Linked DNA regions of Homo sapiens: all the other regions are linked to region 1. The links are contacts of gene promoters, found by promoter capture Hi-C in human tissues and cell types (Jung and others, 2019). All regions are on one chromosome and are shown on one strand. Each heading gives the region's core, a stretch centred on a gene start or on the middle of the fragment in contact. The rest is flanking DNA. Distances are from core to core; before and after follow the strand shown. Region 1 holds the start of ITPRIPL2 (ITPRIP like 2). Region 2 overlaps TMC5 (transmembrane channel like 5). Region 3 overlaps LOC105371114 (a long non-coding RNA gene).

The links. Contacts are between HindIII fragments. The study calls those that stand out against the background at their distance.
Region 2: a contact is called between a fragment that was not itself captured here and the fragment with the promoter of ITPRIPL2 in region 1, in 2 of the 25 tissues and cell types used here (mesenchymal stem cells and mesendoderm cells).
Region 3: a fragment that was not itself captured here is called in contact with the fragment with the promoter of ITPRIPL2 in region 1 in 2 of the 25 tissues and cell types used here (H1 embryonic stem cells and dorsolateral prefrontal cortex).

Annotation. Positions count from the first base shown.
Region 1 is chr16:19,112,016-19,115,536 of GRCh38, forward strand. It overlaps ITPRIPL2 (ITPRIP like 2), which reads left to right and starts at 1,949. Exons shown (of 1, transcript NM_001034841.4): 1 at 1,949-3,521. The coding sequence starts at 2,447. RefSeq lists silencers at 1,951-2,050, 2,141-2,510. The HindIII fragment of the contact is 3,376 bases long and covers 1,072-3,521 here.
Region 2 is chr16:19,430,696-19,434,216 of GRCh38, forward strand. All of the region lies in intron 2 of TMC5 (transmembrane channel like 5), which reads left to right. Among named protein-coding and RNA genes, the nearest start is that of TMC5, 15 kb to the left of the region's middle. The HindIII fragment of the contact is 5,510 bases long and covers 1-3,521 here.
Region 3 is chr16:19,388,413-19,391,933 of GRCh38, forward strand. The region is part of intron 1 of LOC105371114 (a long non-coding RNA gene); the gene reads right to left. Among named protein-coding and RNA genes, the nearest start is that of TMC5, 28 kb to the right of the region's middle. RefSeq lists an enhancer at 1,042-1,101. The HindIII fragment of the contact is 3,229 bases long and covers 658-3,521 here.

The DNA of each region.
Region 1 (3,521 bases), core at 699-3,198:
AACAAACAAACAACAAACAAACAAACAAACAAAAACAGGAAAGGCTCTCTTTTCTTCTGCACTGAAGACAATGTGAGACTACAGCAGCCAAGGGCATATGGAGGACCTGTGGGGAGGACAGCCCACTTAAAAAGCAGAGAGCTAAGAAGTGAAGGGAGAACAGGTCTGCATAGCATTGAGGCACCTAGATTCAGCTGTACCTGAAATCCCCTCATGGATCTCAGTTAACATGATACAATAATGTGTGTGTGTGTGTGTGTCTATGCGTGCGTGCACTTAAGCCAGTTGGAGCTGTGTTTCTGTCACTTGCAAACCTAAGAATCTTGACTGGTAGATGATGATCTCATAGCTAATATTAGTAGATGGGATCTGAAGGCAGATCTGCTTAGCTCTCAGGGGCCCAATTTAGGATTTACTGGGAACAACCCAGAAGCCATCTTTTGAGTCCTGGTTCCCAGGTGGCAGCTGGGTTCTAACATGTTTTAATATATTCACCCTTGCTCTCTTTAAAGGTCAGTGCCAGCAAAGAAGGTGTAATGAGTGTGAATAAAGAAAGACAATTATTTAAATAGATCAGATTATTTCAGGAAGTGCTCCCTGTTATGAAACAAAACAAGCTTCCTAGGACTGAGGTTCCAATGTAGACCCAGACAAAGGACCCCCAAAATTCCCAGCAGATGAGGAAGAGACCTTCCCTGGGCCCCCTCCTGGGAGTTCCACCCCTTGGTTTCTGCCCAGCTCTACAAAGGCTGTGTAACCTTGTGGGGGAGGGGGGAAGGGGGGCAGCTGAACCTGCCTGAGCTGAACCTGTTTGTGCCCCTTTCCTCCACTGGGAAAATAATTTTATTTTAATTTCATTTCATTTTATTTATTTTATTTTTTCAGAGACAAGAGTCTTGCTCTGTCACTCAGGCTGGAGTGCAATGATGCTATCATAGCTCACTGCAGCCTCGAATTCCTGGCCTCACTCAAGCGATCTTCTCGCCGCCTCGGCTTCCCAAAGTGCTGGGATTACAGGGGTGAACCAGCATGTTCCGATGAAGTCTCAGGCCAAATGTCACCCCTGTCATCCTCTGGTTTCCACAGGGTAGCCAGCACCTTCTCACTCCCTCGGGCACTTTTGTTTATTTTAGAGCGTTTTCTTGCTGTGGAATCCTTCCCCCCACTTTTTTTTTTTTTTTTTTTTTTTTTGAGACGGAGTCTCACTCTGTCACCCAGGCTGGAGTACAGTGGCGCGATCTCGGCTCACGGCAGCCTCCGCCTCCCGGATTCAAGCGATTCTCCTGCCTGAACCTCCCGAACAGCTGGGATTACAGGCGCGTGCCACTACGCCTGGCTAATTTTTGTATTTTTAGTAGAGATGGGGGGCGGGGGGGGGGGTCTCACCATGTTGGCCAGGCTAGTCTCGAACTACTGACCTTAAATGATCCGCCCACTTCGGCCTCTCAAAGTGCTGGGATTACAGGCGTGAGACACTGCGCCCAGCCCCTTCCTTTTTTGATTCCCATTTTTACAAGGCTGTAAGCTTCACGAAGGACAGAAACCTTGTCCATCTTGTCAACTATGATTTCCCCAGCACTGTGGCTCCGACCTGGCACATGGTAGGTGCTCGGTGAATACTGGTTTGAACAGACGACTGCGGCAGACGGCAAGGGCCACTCCTGTGCCAGGGCCTGCCACGCCACCGCAGCTTGTGCGGTGGGGGTGGGGAGGACTGGACAGTCTGGCTGTGCGCCCTTTTCTCCTTTTCAACGTCCCAGTATAACTTCAAGGGAGCGCAACTCCAGAGGCTCCCTGGACGAAGCTACCGCCCCGGAATCAGGGCCTTCCCAATTCTGCCTTCGGGGAGGGAGGATGGGGGTGGGCCGCGGGAGGCCAGTTCCAAGAGCGTCCTGAAGTCCCTCCCGCCGCCCCGCGTCGCTTTAAGGCGGAGGCCCGGGAGGGGGCCGACCCGGCTCGCCAGCTCCACGCTCGGCTCCAGACTCCGGCATTTCCTCCCCGCTAGCTGGCGCGGCCTCGCCTCCCCCTCGGAAGAGGAAACTCCCGGGGTCCGAGTAACAGGGTCAGGCGCGGAGAGGAGCGGCGGGAGAGCCAGGAGGGCCGCCCAGGGTAGGAGGCGAGCCAGGCCGGGCCAGAAGCTGGCCGACGGCGGCGCGCGGGGGCGCCGGGCGGGGAGGGCCGCTGGGCCGGACTCAGCGCGCAGCCGGGGCAGGGCGCGGCCCGGGGCCCGAGAGCGCAGGGCGGGCCGCAGCTGGAAGGAACACTTGAGCTGGGAGAGGAGGCCGAGCTGGAGGGCGGCCTCCCTCGGGCCTGCGTTCGGGAAGCCGCCGCGGAGGAGGAGACGGGGACAGCGGGGCTGCCCGGGCGCTGTGCGCATGCTGGGCTTGGGTCGCCGCCGGGGCTTGCCCCCTGGGCTGCTCGGCCACCGCCGCCCCGGGCGCCCGGCATGTCGGTGCACTACACCCTCAATCTACGCGTCTTCTGGCCCCTGGTGACCGGCCTGTGCACCGCCCTGGTGTGCCTCTACCATGTCCTGCGGGGAAGCGGGGGCGCCCGGGCCGAGCCCGCCGACGGCGTGGATGGCGGCTTCCCGTTGCTTAAGGTGGCCGTCCTGCTCCTCCTCAGCTATGTCCTCCTGCGCTGTCGCCACGCTGTCCGGCAGCGCTTCCTGCCCGGGTCTCCCCGTCTGGAGGGTCACGCCGCCTTCTCCTCGAGACACTTCCGAGAGCCGGGCCTCAGCATCCTGCTGGAGAGTTACTACGAGCATGAGGTGCGCCTGTCTCCGCACGTGTTGGGCCACAGCAAGGCGCACGTGAGCCGGATCGTGGGCGAGCTGGTGCGGGCTGGCCGCGCCCGGGGGTCCCCCGGTCTCATTCCTGGGGGAGCGCTGGCCTTGGCCTTCCGCGGAGACTTCATCCAGGTGGGCAGCGCCTACGAGCAACATAAAATCCGCCGGCCCGACAGCTTCGACGTGCTGGTGCCACTGCGCCTCCCGCCGCTTGTGGCGCTGGAGCCACGGAGCCTGGGCGAGGAGCCAGCGCTGGCCCCGGCCTTCCGCGGCTGCTTCTTGTGCGCCCTCAAGGCACCACCCTCACCATCGGGGGCCTCGGGGGGCCACTGGCTTCGGGACTGCAAACCCTTTGCTGATGCCTTCTGCGTGGATGTGCGCGGGCGGCGTCACCTCTCTGCTACTCTGGTGCTGCGCTGGTTCCAGTCGCATCTGCAGCGCTCCTTGGCCACTGTGCGTTACAGCCTGGAGGGGCGCTGTCGGGTCACCTTGACCCCAGGTGGCCTGGAACAGCCCCCCACCTTACACATCTTGCCCTGCCGCACTGACTACGGCTGCTGCCGCCTTTCTATGGCTGTGCGTCTCATCCCCGCTGTCCATCTGGGAGATGGGGTCTTCCTTGTGGCGCCACCACCGCCACCCTTGCCCAGCGCGCCCCTGTTGGAGCTCCCTGAGGGCCTGCGTGCGGAGGCACTGTGGGGTGTGAACACAGCACGCCAGGAGCAGAAGCTGC
Region 2 (3,521 bases), core at 1,022-3,521, 320 kb after region 1:
GATGGGGTCTCCCTCTCTTTTTTTTAAGTCCATAAAATGTTTTATGAGATAATGGTGATAGTCAATTGTGATAGCTGCCATTGCCTTTAATATCCTTAGATGGCAAAACAGAATTTTATTGGGACTAATTTCTTTCCTTCTCTCCACTCTCTGCAATAAAAACAATTTTTTTTTTTTTTTTTGAGACTGAATCTCGCTCTGTCGCCAGGCTGGAGTGCAGTGGCACGGTCTCAGCTCACTGCAACCTCCCACTCCCTGGTTCAAGCAATTCTCCTGCCTCAGCCTCCTGAGTACCTGAGATTACAGGCACGCGCCACAACAAAAACAATTTTTTAAAAATTATTTGGTCTGTTTTAAGTCAAATAAATGATGGTTCATTGGAACTAGTTAAAAACTTCTGTAGAATCATTTTCATAATTTTAACTGTGGGTCTTAAGTATGTAGGGATCTTACATTATTTACAGGATCATCACTAGCATATAGAACATTGATTTCATTTATGTTAAGAGGTTAATCATGGGTTTTCATGACAAAGTTCACCCCGTTAGAAGATAAAACGTGGGGGCCGGGCGCGGTGGCTCACACCTGTAATCCCAGCACTTTGGGAGGCCAAGGTGGGTGGATTGCCTGAGGTCAGGACTTCGGTAGCAGCCTGGCCAACATACTGAAACCCCGTCTCTACTAAAAATACAAAAAATTAGCTGGGCATGGTGGCAGGTGCCTGTAATCCCAGCTACTTGGGAGGCTGAGGCAGGAGACTCGCTTGAACCCAGGAGGCGGAGGTTGCTGTGAGCCGAGATCGTGCCATTGCACTCCAGCCTGGGCAACAGGAGGGACCTTCCATCTCAGAAAAAAAAAAAAAAAGAAGAAGAAGAAGACAAAATGTACGGCTGAAATTGGACTTTGTGGCCTTGTTTTGCCTCTCTCGGGGCAACTTCCTGCTCTTGGTGCTGGTCAATTTGCTGTTTTGTAAGGCCCTGGTTTCTCTTTCCTGTCTTTCAGGTAATAAATGGCCTCAATTAGAAAAATTAACCTTTGGACAATTCACAGGCTTCATGATCACATGTTCTAGCCAGGCCCAGGGCAGGAGATGGGAAAAGGAGATTAAAGATAAGAATCACAGCTGGCCATCTTCTGCTGGCACCTGTAGATCTAAAGCATTCTTTGTGACGGTTCCATGGTATTCCACTGTGCAGATGTCCTGTGACTGATTCAGCCCATCCCCTGTTGATGAATTTTTGAATTGCTCCCAGTTTTTTGTCATTATACACAAAGCTTGGCCTGACAATCCTTAGCAATTCTGGCTGAGTGTCTGGGTTTCGTGAGATCATTTTGGTGGTGCAGAACAGAACTCGTGGGTGGCTGGCCTGGCCTTATGTTAGCTTGAGGCGGGGAGAAGTGGGAGGCGGCAGAGAGCCAGGTAAATAGCTTGACTGTGACCTCATCCATATTCTAGGATGTAATTGATCCCTAGAAGATTTCTGAATTAGCTGAATGACAAACACAAGATACTTAGATGACCCATTCGAACCAGGAAGCCTTGCAACATCAAGTAAGGAGTCCTCAATTAACAGCCTTAGAAGACATGTCATTGCTTGGGCATGTGATTGAAAACCATTCAAATGGTGAAGTGAGAAACCCTAAATGGGATATGGAAAGGAGGAATTGAAATAGATGGTTCAATAGCCCTTATTGAGGAGGTGCTAGAGAAAAACCAGGAAGAAAGAAAGTAGGATAGTACCCTCTTTGTGCTTTTTCCAAGGCAACAGGAAACAGTATCATTCCTTTGAACCTGCAGCATACCTCATTTACTCCTCTAATAGTTAACAGGAAGCTAAGGGTAAGGTTCTCAGAAGGCCACTCCCACTTCATGTGACATCAGTGTGAGAGACTATTTCCTTATGGCCATTTCCTCCTCTCTCTTTCCCAATCCTTTTCTGTGGGTTTAGCTCTTTGTTTGTTTAGGTATTTGTTGCAGTGCAGGTGGTATGGTTACAGCATTTGTTCCCAACTGTGAAACAGATGTGCAATACACAAGCTCTTGTCAAATGGCAATGGAACAGAGAACTGTCCAACAGACTTGAAGCTAATTGTTGGCTGATCACATATAACATCCATCTTTCTATCTATCTATCATCTATCTACCCATCTGTCTATTTATCTGTCTATCTAATCTATGTGTGTTTTTGTATGTGTGTTCTATGAATGTGTATATATAATGTATATTATATGTGTAGATCTATTATATATGTAGATATGAATAAATATATACATAAATTGTATGGATATCTTTGTGTGTATATACATATAATATACACATATAATACACATATACGCATACAATATGAAGTTATATACATACATACATATATATAAATTTGTCAAAGATTCAAAACAAAGACCAAAATGATTTGTATCAGTCAGGCTAGTCTAAACTCTGCTGCATCAAAATAACACTATCTCAAAATCTAAATGTCTTAAAACATAAAGGTTTGTTTCTTGCTCATGAAAAGCTACTGTGGGTAGGTGCAGGTGGGCTGTGAGCCATGCAGTCATGCAGGAACCCGGGCTGGTGACTGGGTCCCCTTTGGGAATATCACTGGTTCCCATGGCAGTGGAAGGGGAGCTAGAGGGTCTCATTTTGGCTTTTGAATGCTTTCTCTTGGAAGTGACACAGTCACTTATGCTCACAGCCCACTGGCCAAAGATAGCCATATGCGATTGTCTTCCTGCAGCACAATGACCTGGAGGGGACTCCAGAGTCTCTCCCCAACTCCACTCCTGCAGCCCCTCTTGGAGTTAGAGCTTCTGAGTGCTTTGTTTGCTGGTGACCCTGAGTCCTGGCTTTCATTACATTGTTATTCGATCCCTTTGAAAGAGTTCTCATGATAAATTATTTTCAGAAATTGATCTTGGGAGGAAGTGTAGTCCTCTTGAAAAACTGGTATACTTCCTTTTTATTGCCACACATAGTGAGTATTAGATAACTTGTCATGATTCCCTTTTAGTCTTGGCTAATAAGAAGCTCAGGGCAAAATTTAGTTCTCAGTTACAGTCACTATGTTGGCCTGGGAATTTTGCAGGATTGCTCCTTCCTCTACCTGATTATAAGACATTTCCTATTTCTTTCTTTCTTTTTTTTTGAGACAGGGTCTCATTCTGTTGCCCAGGCTGGAGTACAATGGTGCGGTCATAGCTCACTGCAACCTCAGCCTTCTTGGCTCAAGCGATCCTCCCGCCTAGCCTCCTGAGTAGCTGAGATTACAGGCATGTACTACCATGCCCAGCTAATTTATATATATATATATTATATATATAATATATATATAAATCTATATATTATATATATAATATATATAATATAAATCTATATATATTATATATAATATATATATATCTATAATATATATATTATATATATATCTATATATCTAAAATATATATATCTATAATATATAGATCTATATATGATATATAGATCTATTAGATATATAATATATATATCTATATATCTATAGTAT
Region 3 (3,521 bases), core at 1,022-3,521, 280 kb after region 1:
CTGCAATCTCAGCTATTCGAGGGGCTGAAGCAGGAGAATCGCTTGAACACAGCAGGTGGAGGTTACAGTGAGCTGAGATCGTGCCACTGCACTCCAGCCTCGGCAACAGACCAAAAATCCATCTCAAAGAAAAGAAAAAAGACATATGTATAACATATGCTTGTTCTCAATAACACAGAAACAAGCAGAATAAAAAGTAGCATCCCTCTTCATACCTCTCTCGTGCTTCTCTTCCCAGAGGTAACCACTTTTAAGTTTATAGTCTTCTGACCACTTTGTCTTAAAAGACATGCTGTACTGGTATTAAATACATGGGATTATTGTGTTTATATGGGTCAGTGATTTAAGAATTGGTTGAACAGTTTATCTTGAAAATTATGCATGTTATAACAAGGCATTTAGATAATAGCCCCAAGCTCCACCTCACTCCTGCTGGCATGACCATTGTGAAATATTTTTTTTCTAGAGGGTAGGGGGATGTTTTCATATTTTGGGATATTACATAGGATGGAATAATGGAATTGTGATACAGCTGGATCTACAAATAGGCTGGTTGACTTCATTTCACATCTACAATGCAATATTGGAGAAAGGGTGTGAGCTCTGAATTGGAGACCGATCTGGATTTGAATGTTGGTTCTGATGCTTCCTAATGAGATGAGTTTAGGCAAGTTTTTCTTTGTTTGTCTGTCTGTATCTCTCAGTTTCCATATTTGCAAAGCCACCTCATGGATATGTTAAGTGAGGTCATGCATGATGTCAGGTGCAAAGTTGACTCCTAGCCTGAGGTGCTTAGTCCAGGTTAGCTCCCTTCCGTGGTCCAGGTTAGCACCTTTACTTTGCCCTAGGTTGGCTCCCTTTTCTTAGTTTTGGTTAGCACCGTTTCTTTGGTCTAGGTTAACACCCTTTTCTGCACCCCACTTCTGGAAAGACTGTGGGACTTCCCACAAGGGGGCGCAGGTACAAAGGTATTGCAGCCGGGAAGCAGAGCACAGTCCCTGCCCGTGGAGGCTAAGGGGCCACCTTTGTATGTCTCTGCTGTGTGCAAACACCATCCTCTCAGGAGAGGGCACAATAAAATGATCTCAGTTATGAGTGCTCCAGGGGTTGGCCACAGCTCTGTTCTCCCTCTGGGGAGCCTGTCTTCTAGTTGCTATGCAATTTTCCGTCCTTCTCTTCCCAAAGGCACTGAGTGAAATCCCTTTTGTGACCAGGAGCTTTAGTTTTTACCAACTTTAAAGTAGATGATGTCGTACTTCCAGTGTTTTCACTATCAGGTTAGCTGAAGAAATTTGGACAGAATCAAGGGCCACTCAAAAAATGCTTGCATGAACACAGTGTAACATGCTTATGAAACCGACCCAATAGATCCACACACAGACTTCTTTTTTTTCTTTAAACATGGAAATCGACTCTTCTGGTTGTTTCGTTGTTGTTGTTTTTATTTCGTTTTGTTTTTGTTTTTGATGAAGTCTCATTATGTTGCCCAGGCTGGAGTGTGGGGGCACAATCTCGGCTCACTGCAACCTCTACCTCCCGGGTTCAAGCCATTCTCCTGTCTCAGCCTCCCAAGTAGCTGGGATTATAGGTGTGCGCCACCACGCCCAGCTAATTTTTGTATTTTAGGTAGAGACGGGGTTTCACCATGTTGGCCAGGCTGGTCTCGAACTCCTGACTTCAAGTGACCTGCCCACCTCAGCCTCCCAAAGTGCTGGGATTACAGGCATGAGCCACCATGTCTGGCCGCTTCTGGTCTTAAAGCTTGAAACTTACATTTGTTTTGTCTGAGTTCCTTCCTCAGAAAACATCTTCAGACCTCTCAAAAAATAAAAAATAAATTTAAAAAAAAAACTATCAAAGAACTGAAACTCACAAGATCACCACATCAGAACAATGAGGTATGGGACCCCTCATTTATCATGATTGCTTCCTTGCCCCTTCCTGTTTTCTTATACATTGTTACATTTCTTCCCTGTTATGTAAACCCCTAGATTTAGTCAGTCAGGGAGATGGATTTGAGCCTGAGCTCCCATCTCCTTGGCTGCAGCACCTGATTAAAGCCTTCTTCCTTGGCAGTAGTCATTGTCCCAGTCATTGGCTTTCTGTGTGGTGAGCAGCAGGACCAAGACTGAACCCCTGGTATTTTGGTAACACTTAGATTTTTTAAATTATTTTTAAAAATCAGTTATTGTTATGTTCCAGGTCTTACCTCATTCAATGCTCAGAACCACCCTATGAGATAGGTACTGTCATTATTATTATTTTGATACATGGTCTCATTCTGTCACCCTGGCTGGAATGCAGTGGTGCAATCTCAGCTCACTGCAGCCTGGATCTCCAGGGCTCAAGTAATCCTTTCATCTCAGCCTCCCGAGTAGCTGGGACCACAGGTGCATGCCACCACACCCAGCTAAATTTTATATTTTTTGTAGGAATGGGGTCACACTGTGTCCGGAATTTATTCCTTCCAGTGGGTTCTTGGTCTCTCTGACTTCAAGAATGAAGCTGCGGACCCTCGCAGTGAGTGTTACATCTCTCAAAGATGGTGTGTCCAGAGTTTGTTCCTTCAGATGTTCAGATGTGTCCAGAGTTTCTTCCTTCCGGTGAGTTCGTGGTCTTGCTAACTTCAGGAGTGAAGCCGCAGACCTTCGCAGTGAGTGTTATAGCCCTTAAAGGTGGCGTGTCCAGAGTTGTTTGTTCCTCCCGGTGGGTTCGTGGTCTCGTTGACTTCAGGAATGAAGCTGCAGACCCTCACAGTGAGTGTTACAGCTTGTAAAGATAGTGTGGACCCATAGAGTGAGCAGCAGCAAGATTTACTGTGAAGAGTGAAAGAACAAAGCTTCCACAGTGTGGAAGGGGACCCGAGCAGGTTGCAGCTGCTGGCTGGGGTAGCCAGCTTTTATTCCCTTATTTGTCTGCACCCATGTCTTGCTGATTGGTCCATCTTACAGAGTGCTGATTGGTGCATTTTTACAGAGTGCTGATCGGTGCATTTACAATCCTTTAACTAGACACAGAGTGCTGACTGGTGCATTTTTATAGAGTGCTTATTGGTGCATTTACAATCCTTTAGCTAGACACAGAGCGCTGATTGGTGCATTTTTACAGAGTGCTGATTGATGCATCTACAATCCTTTAACTAGACACAGAGTGCTGATTGGTGCATTTACAATCCTTTAGCTAGACACAGAGCGCTGATTGGTGCATTTTTATAGAGTGCTTATTGGTGCATTTACAATCCTTTAGCTAGACACAGAGCGCTGATTGGTGCATTTTTACAGAGTGCTGGTTGGTGCATTTACAATCCTCTAGCTAGACAGAAAAGTTCTCCAAGTCCCCACTCGACCCACAAGTCCAGCTGGCTCCACCTCTCAACATGATGTTGCCCAGGCTGGTCCTGAACTCCTGTACTTAAGTGATCCACTGGCCTCAGGCTCCCAAAGTGCTGGGATTACAGGTGTGAGCCACCAAACACAGCTGGTACTATTATTAGCCCCATTTGATGAGTGAAAAAAATAGAG